3 separate regions of the Homo sapiens genome follow, and all the other regions are linked to region 1. Evidence: promoter capture Hi-C in human tissues and cell types (Jung and others, 2019). All regions are on one chromosome and are shown on one strand. Each heading gives the region's core, a stretch centred on a gene start or on the middle of the fragment in contact. The rest is flanking DNA. Distances are from core to core; before and after follow the strand shown. Region 1 holds the start of FAS (Fas cell surface death receptor). Region 2 overlaps PTEN (phosphatase and tensin homolog). Region 3 overlaps PTEN (phosphatase and tensin homolog).

Region 1 (2,800 bases), core at 177-2,676:
TTTGGAATAGTTTTAGGATTTCAAAAAATTTGCAGAGATAATACAGAGAATGCCCATATACCATCCTCCTTATCCCACTTCTTTTTGTGTCTATTAGATGCTCAGAGTGTGTGCACAAGGCTGGCACGCCCAGGGTCTTCCTCATGGCACTAACAGTCTACTGAAAGGTGGAACAGAGACAAGCCTATCAACACCTACAAGACTGGTGGTAAGTGCAGTGACAGATGCAAAACACAGGGTGATGGAAAGCCCTCAGGAGGGTAACCTAACCTAGATTTGAGGGCCCAAACAGGCTCCAGAAGAAAATGTCAACTGAGAGGAAGCCTGAAGGATGAACAGTGGGCTAAGCAAAGGGTTATTAATGTGTTATTAATGGGTTGAATCTAATTGGGAAGGGAGAGAGGTTGCAGAGTGAGGTGCAGAGCTTGGTGGACGATGCCAAAGGAATACTGAAACCTTTAGTGTGTCCAGTCTGGAACTGCATCCAAATTCAGGTTCAGTAATGATGTCATTATCCAAACATACCTTCTGTAAAATTCATGCTAAACTACCTAAGAGCTATCTACCGTTCCAAAGCAATAGTGACTTTGAACAGTGTTCACCAGAGCACGAAAGAATTACAAGATTTTTTTTTAAAGAAAATTGGCCAGGAAATAATGAGTAACGAAGGACAGGAAGTAATTGTGAATGTTTAATATAGCTGGGGCTATGCGATTTGGCTTAAGTTGTTAGCTTTGTTTTCCTCTTGAGAAATAAAAACTAAGGGGCCCTCCCTTTTCAGAGCCCTATGGCGCAACATCTGTACTTTTTCATATGGTTAACTGTCCATTCCAGAAACGTCTGTGAGCCTCTCATGTTGCAGCCACAACATGGACAGCCCAGTCAAATGCCCCGCAAGTCTTTCTCTGAGTGACTCCAGCAATTAGCCAAGGCTCCTGTACCCAGGCAGGACCTCTGCGCTCTGAGCTCCATTCTCCTTCAAGACCTCCCCAACTTCCCAGGTTGAACTACAGCAGAAGCCTTTAGAAAGGGCAGGAGGCCGGCTCTCGAGGTCCTCACCTGAAGTGAGCATGCCAGCCACTGCAGGAACGCCCCGGGACAGGAATGCCCATTTGTGCAACGAACCCTGACTCCTTCCTCACCCTGACTTCTCCCCCTCCCTACCCGCGCGCAGGCCAAGTTGCTGAATCAATGGAGCCCTCCCCAACCCGGGCGTTCCCCAGCGAGGCTTCCTTCCCATCCTCCTGACCACCGGGGCTTTTCGTGAGCTCGTCTCTGATCTCGCGCAAGAGTGACACACAGGTGTTCAAAGACGCTTCTGGGGAGTGAGGGAAGCGGTTTACGAGTGACTTGGCTGGAGCCTCAGGGGCGGGCACTGGCACGGAACACACCCTGAGGCCAGCCCTGGCTGCCCAGGCGGAGCTGCCTCTTCTCCCGCGGGTTGGTGGACCCGCTCAGTACGGAGTTGGGGAAGCTCTTTCACTTCGGAGGATTGCTCAACAACCATGCTGGGCATCTGGACCCTCCTACCTCTGGTGAGCCCTCTCCTGCCCGGGTGGAGGCTTACCCCGTCTTAGTCCCGGGGATAGGCAAAGTGGGGCGGGCGCGGGACGCGTGCGGGATTGCGGCGGCAGCGGCGCACGCGGGCACCTGGGAGCGGCGGGCTGCTGCGGGAGGCGTTGGAGACTGGCTCCCGGGGGCTGTTAGGACCTTCCCTCAGGCCCGGGTGCTCAGAACGCTGGAGGACTTGCTTTTCTTGGGCCTTGATGCGAAGTGCTGACCCCGCTGGGCAGGCGGGGCAGCTCCGGCGCTCCTCGGAGACCACTGCGCTCCACGTTGAGGTGGGCGTGGGGTGCGGACAGGAATTGAAGCGGAAGTCTGGGAAGCTTTAGGGTCGCTGGAGGGGGACCCCGGTTGGAGAGAGGAGCGGAACTCCTGGACAAGCCCTGACAAGCCAAGCCAAAGGTCCGCTCCGGCGCGGGTGGGTGAGTGCGCGCCGCCCCGCGGGGGCGGGGAGAGAGCCTGCAGCCTTCAGAACAGATATTGCTCATTTTCTGGCAGTTCTCAGACGTAGGAAATAAGTCAGCACCGAAGCAGTGGTTAAGCCGGAGGGCTCGGAAGAACGGCACCTTTTCTTTCTCGAAAAAGTTATATGGGGGCTGAATGAGCTTCTGGAGGCTTGTTTACCGTTTTTTATTGTCACACAGAAAAAGAAACTGCCTTGTCTCCCTTCCGGGAATTCTCTCTTTAAGACTGTAAGTCGCTGCCTGAGTGGTTTCATTTTGTTTTGTTTTTCTGCCCTTCTCTTTCTTCTTTTGCCCTTTCTTAGCTTGCACTCCCATGGTGATTTCTGCTTGGTCTCCTGCTGGGGTTGGTGGTACTCGTTCCCACCGCACAGAACCCGGCGCCTATTATTGGCCAAGAAACTTGAGCAGCCTGTTTTGAAAAGTCCCTCGCTCAGAAATGCCAGCTTGCAGATGGCTAATCAAAGAGACGTGGATCCAGGAGGCTCATTTGAGTACCGGAGCCTCTGAGAGTCCATGGATTTTTATTTTATTGGGCCCCAACAAAGTGCCAGGCATAGCGAGAGAAGTGTTTACAAATGTGATCTCCGCGGATTCTCACGAGAGCCATGTAGTGGGGAAGATAACCACATCCCCATTTTACAGATGGCGAAATGAGGTTCAGAGAGCTTCAGTAATTCAGCCAAGATCACACAGCTAGTAAATGGGAGATATGGGATTGAACTCAGATCTAATTCCAAAACTCAGGCTGTTCGCTGATTGCATCTGATATCCAG
Region 2 (2,800 bases), core at 150-2,649, 1.1 Mb before region 1:
AGGATATGCTGCAGAAGAAATAACTCAGCAGCAGAGCATTTAGGTTACTGGATGGCTACTTTTAACCACTTAAACTAAGCTGGGGGAAGGGAATGACTTGAAGACAGAATTTATAATTAAAAGAGAGGCAGAATGGAAATACTTGGAAAATTTGCAGCCTGGCCATAGTAAAGAATGCAAAAGGTATGTTTAGGAGAGCAAACCAAGGGTGTGGTCCAGGAACCATTTGCTGAAGAGATTAATATTCCTAGAGGAGACCCAAGGGCTATTTATCAAGACAGTGGAAAAAGACCCCAGAGGCATTTTGGAGATCTTTGAGGCTGCCTGCCCCATCACAGGCCCAGAGCTCTAGGAGGGCAGAATGGTTTGTGGCTCAGGTGGTCCTTCACAAGCTTGCTGCCCAGGGCTACCTCAGCTCCCCATATTTCAACCCAGTGGGCCTTGGCTGTCCTAGGTCTGGTTCAGAGGGGCCCAGGTGTGGCTTAGGCTACTGCTGAGTACTCAAATGGTAAACCTTGGCAGCGTCTATATGGTGCTAATTCTGCAGGCTCACAGGATGAAAGAGCTGTGGGAGACATGGCTACCACCACCAGGATTTCAAAGGATGATGGGGATAGTCTGGGAGAGACTTGCCACAGGCTTGGAGCCTCTGAAGGGTGGAAATGTGGGTTGGAGTCACTACAGAGAGTCCCTACTAGGGCATTGCATAATGGAGCCATGGCAGCAGGCCCACCACCAAAGCTTCAGAACTGTAGAGCTACAAGTATACAGTGCCAGCCTGGGAGAACTTCAGGCTTGAGACCCTAACCTGTGAAAGCTGCATGGGCTAAGTACAGCAAAGCCATGGAGGTGGGGCTTCCCAGGGTCTATTGGGATGAAACGAATGTATTTTGTAGGTGAGAAGGACATGAGTTTTGAGGCCCAGGGGCAGAATGCTATGGTTTGGTTGTTTCCTTCAAAACTCATGTTGAAACTTCATTGCCATGTGGCATTATTATGAGGTGGAACCTTTCAGAAGTGGTTACATTATAAGGGCTTTGCCTTCATTAATGGATTAATGCCATTATTGCAGGTGTGGGTTAGTTATCTCTGGAGTTTGGCCCCCTTTTTCTCTATCATGTGCTCATGCCCTCTTTTGCCATGTGATGCCTTCTACCATGTTATGATGCATCCAGAAGACTCTCACCACATGCAGCCCCTTGATCTTAGACTTCTCAGCTTCTAGAACTGTGAGTGAAATAAACTTCTTTTCTTTATAAATTACCCCGTCTGTGGTATTGTATAGCAGCAGAAAATAGACATCAGCCTGAAGTTCCCCCAGGCTGGCATTAAATACTAATTATTAATTAGTATTTATAGTGCAAGGATAAATTCAAGTTTAGCCCTGGTTAGAATGACCACATTTCAAGGGAGGGGCTTTGTACTTCTGTGCATATCTGTAAGGATAAAAATCTTAATACTATTCTCACTGAAATTAATGGTTTAGGTTAGGTAAGGTTGTTAGTGCTAATAATTATTTCTTTTAATAAAATATTCTTAGTTGCGTTGTTCAAAAAACATAGATGATTTGAATTTATATTTTTTGGCCAAAATATATTTATAATTTTGAGTAGGAATTCCAGAGTATTGGTAGCTATAACCACTTTGGGTTCCCTGCCATTGCTTCTGGTGCCTCATTTTTTCTGACGTCTTCCATTTTCTTACATTTGTCTTCTAAGGTGGAGTTAAGATTACTCAGTTAAGATTATTTCACTTTAGGCCTCTGCTGTCTTCTGCTTTTTTTTTTAAAATGAATGGATATAATATCCCAATACATTTTGATAATTGAACAACAGCTACATTTTTAAGTGAGGCTACTTTCTTCTAATTTTTTAAATTTATTTTTCTCAGTTTTTAAAAAAAATGTCAGATTGGCTAAGAGTTGGGGCAGCTTTCTTATGTGAGAGTAGTAGATGACAGCAAATATTTGTGATGTTAAAATGATAATCCTAATAGTTTTCTTTTAGAATCTTTATAATAAAAACCCTTTGAGGCTGAGGGTGAATTTGTATGTTCCTAAAGTGACAAAAAATGTTCTTGGGGCATAGTAATTTAAATCTTAGATGCTTTTATTAGTATAATTTTTTGGTAGAAATTTGGCATTAAAAAATGCATACAGAGCTTTTTCTACATACAGGGCAAGACAGCATTTTGTCATGGCAATTAGTAAATAGATAATTATAAAACATCTAATTTTAAGCAATTTGTTACAGAAACGATACAGGTACATTGTGGCAAAAATAGAAGATACAAAACAAGCAAATATGAGAAAAAATATACATGCCACCACCTATATATGACTTTTAGTACTTTATAATCTTTTGTCTATATATGTCTATATGGATATATACGTATTCTTTTTATCCAAATGGTATTACATTGTACATTCTGTTTTGAAACCTGCCTTTTTTAGTCATTTACATCTACTTTTCCATCTCAGTAACTTTTCATCTTGTGTAATGCCCGGATCACATTAAAATGTTTCCAATTAGCTCAAAAATGTCCTTTATGGCTGGTTTGGCTAAAACAGTATCCAGGCCAGCATTGCACCTATGAAATTGGCTGTTAGGAATCTTGTATCTTTAAAAATCAAGGGCAGCAACCCATCCTCCCGCTTCCCCCACCTCCCACCACCCCCCCACCTTTTTTTTTTCTTAAAGATACTGGCTTGTTGAAGAGAGAATGGGTCATGTCCTACAAACTGTCTGAATTTGTCCAGTTTGCTGTCTCATAGTGTCATTTAGCTTGTTTTATCCTATGT
Region 3 (2,800 bases), core at 97-2,596, 1.1 Mb before region 1:
AATATTCTTTAAAAGTCACCTTGCTTAAATTAGCAAGTAGGAAATGCTTTCAATAAAGAGAACTGTCATGTACCCACTACTCCTTACTTACTGAATCATCTTCTTTTGGATAGAGAAGATAAAAGTGAAAAGGGAATTTAAGAGTTCCTGCCTTTTTCCTTGTCTTTAGCATTATATAGCTGTTTAATGTGTGGGAGTCTAATTTCTTTTTTCTTTCTTGAGACAAAGTCTCACTCTGTTGCCCAGGCTGGAGTGCAGTGGCACAGTCTTGGCTCACTGCAACCTCTGCCTCCCAGGTTCAAGCAATTCTCCTGCCTTAGCCTCCTGAGTAGCTGGGACTACAGGCATGTGCCACCATGCCCGGCTAATTTTTGTATTTTTAGTAGATATGGGACTTCACCATGTTGGCCAGGCTGGTCTTGAACTCCTGACCTCTAGTGATCTGCCTGCTTTGGCCTCCCAAAGTGCTGGGATTACAGGCATGAGCCACTGCACCTGGCCTAATTTTTTTATTGTTCTTTTTGGTGTGAACATTCTCCCCTCCTCCAAGCCTTTTGTTTTTACTATTTTCATGTTCCTTTATATGTGCTGCTGTTTTGTTTCATCTGTAATTATCTCTCATCCCCTTTTTTGGCTATTATAATATATATATGTACGTTTTGAATCTGAGCTTTGAAGGTAAATTCACTGCAGCTGTGTTGGTTGATTTTAGATAATTTGTGTATTTCCTCCTTTGTCTTTTTTAAACTGGAGTCATTTGTAGTTGTTTATACAGAATTTTAGTTTTTAAAACCACAAGTCTTTCATTATAGGTTGAGTTATGAATTCATAGCCTGTTATTTAAATGAAGCTTTTGAAATCTGTTTTACTGATCTGTATCATATCTAACTACGCCAGTATTTCCTTCCTTGTCTGACGTGAACTCTAAAATTATGTGAACACTTTCTCCCTGTTTCCTGGCATTTCCACTCAAACTTGTTCCTCATTCTTAGTTAGAAATATATCCAGAATTGTAGTTTCTTTCTAATCTAATGACAGAAGCAAATTAATCAAGCATGGCAAGAATTTATTGGAAAACTGCATGTAGTTGAAAATATGTTTAGTATATATTTTGACAGCTGTGAAGTCTCTAATTTTTACTGTACCTTTTCTCTGTTCCAATTTTATGCTCTATTCTAAGGATGTACCCATTTCTACTACCTGACTAGGGAGCATGTGTATTGTATCCCAGCAGATTTTTTTTTTCATAGATAGATATCCTTTAGATATCTGTTATCCAGTGTAGGTAGCCACTAGCCACATGTAGCTATCATTATGTTTAAATGTAAATAAAATAAAATAAATTTACTGAGTTGTTTTTGCTAGCTACATTTCTTGTGCTCAGTAGCTACATGTGGCTTGTGATTACTGTATTAAGACAGCACAGATACAGAACATTTTCATTATTGCAAAAGTTCTGTTAGACAGTGCTGTTCTATACAGTGTCATTCTGCCTCTCATTCTAAAAAGTTCTAATTCCTGAAGTTGATGTACTCTTTCTGTTGCTGTCCTCTAGCTTAATCAAAATAAATTTGAGTCTTTTTAAAGGTAGGTTGCATTTTACATACTGATATTTCTAAATCAGAGGCTATTTATATTACTTTTTTTATATTACTTTTAAAAATTAGCTTTATTGGAGTATAATTTACATGCAATAAAATCTACCCATTTTAAATGTACGGTTCATTGACTTTTGAGAAATACACACACACACACACACACACACACACCTTCTTGTAAACACACACCTTCTTGTAAACACAACAACCAAGATTTAGAACACTCGCTTTATGAAAAGTTTCCCTCATGCCCATTTGTAGTCAGTCCCCAAACCTGGTTTCAGGCAATCTCTGATCTGCTTTCTATATGCTTTGCCTATACTAGGATTACATATAAATACAGTCATATAGCATGTATTCCTTTTTGTGTCTGGCTTCTTTCTTTTAGTATAATATTTTTGAAATTTATCCCTGTTGTTACTAGTATCAATAATTTGTTCTTTTTTATTGCTGACTAATATTACATTGTATGGATATGACATTTCTTTATTAGTGTGGTGGGCATTTGAGTTGTTTTCAGTTTGGGTCTGTTATGAACAAAGCTGCTGTAAGCATTCATGTGCAAGACTTTTGTGGACATATATTTTTGTTTCTGTTTATTCAATACCTTTGAGTAGAATTGTTGGGTCACATGATGTAGATCAGTTGAACAGAGTAGATTCCAGAAAAGTTCACATACACATTTCTTGACAAAGGTGCTGAGATTATTCATGGGAAAAGGATAATCTTTTAAACAAATAATACTGGAACAATAGAGAAAACAAAGTGAACCTTGACTTTTATGTCTTATCATATACAAAAATTAATTTGAAGTGGATTGTTGACCTAAATGTAAAAGTAAAATTTAAAAATATAAAACTTCTAGATGAAAACATAGGAGAAAATCTCTGTGACTTTTGGTTTAAAGATTTCTTAGACAGTACATATAAAATTAACTATATAAGGAAAAAATGGACAAATTTGACTTTATCAACATTAAAAATTTCTGCTCATTGAAAGACTCAAAATGAAAAGGCAAGCAGTTTTGGAGAAAATATTTGCAATACATATATCTGAAAAAGGACTTGAATGTATAATATATACATAAAGATGCTCTTACAACTTCATAATGAGAAAATAACCCCATAAAGAGAAGGGCAGGCCGGGTGCAGTGGCTCATGCCTATAATGCCAGCACTTTTGGAGGCTGAGGTGGGTGAATTG

Evidence for each region. Contacts are between HindIII fragments. The study calls those that stand out against the background at their distance.
Region 2: a fragment that was not itself captured here is called in contact with the fragment with the promoter of FAS in region 1 in 1 of the 25 tissues and cell types used here (dorsolateral prefrontal cortex).
Region 3: a contact is called between a fragment that was not itself captured here and the fragment with the promoter of FAS in region 1, in 1 of the 25 tissues and cell types used here (dorsolateral prefrontal cortex).

The regions. Positions count from the first base shown.
Region 1 is chr10:88,989,372-88,992,171 of GRCh38, forward strand. FAS (Fas cell surface death receptor) reads left to right here and starts at 1,427. Exons shown (of 9, transcript NM_000043.6): 1 at 1,427-1,535. The coding sequence starts at 1,506. It overlaps FAS-AS1 (FAS antisense RNA 1), which reads right to left. Exons shown (of 1, transcript NR_028371.1): 1 at 2,051-2,800. It also overlaps a transcript of ACTA2 not described here. RefSeq lists a silencer at 123-172 and enhancers at 580-1,091, 1,092-1,602, 1,743-2,152, 2,283-2,362. The HindIII fragment of the contact is 1,672 bases long and covers 807-2,478 here.
Region 2 is chr10:87,887,362-87,890,161 of GRCh38, forward strand. The region is part of intron 1 of PTEN (phosphatase and tensin homolog); the gene reads left to right. Among named protein-coding and RNA genes, the nearest start is that of PTEN, 25 kb to the left of the region's middle. The HindIII fragment of the contact is 7,093 bases long and covers 1-2,800 here.
Region 3 is chr10:87,917,788-87,920,587 of GRCh38, forward strand. The region is part of intron 2 of PTEN (phosphatase and tensin homolog); the gene reads left to right. Among named protein-coding and RNA genes, the nearest start is that of PTEN, 56 kb to the left of the region's middle. The HindIII fragment of the contact is 7,122 bases long and covers 1-2,800 here.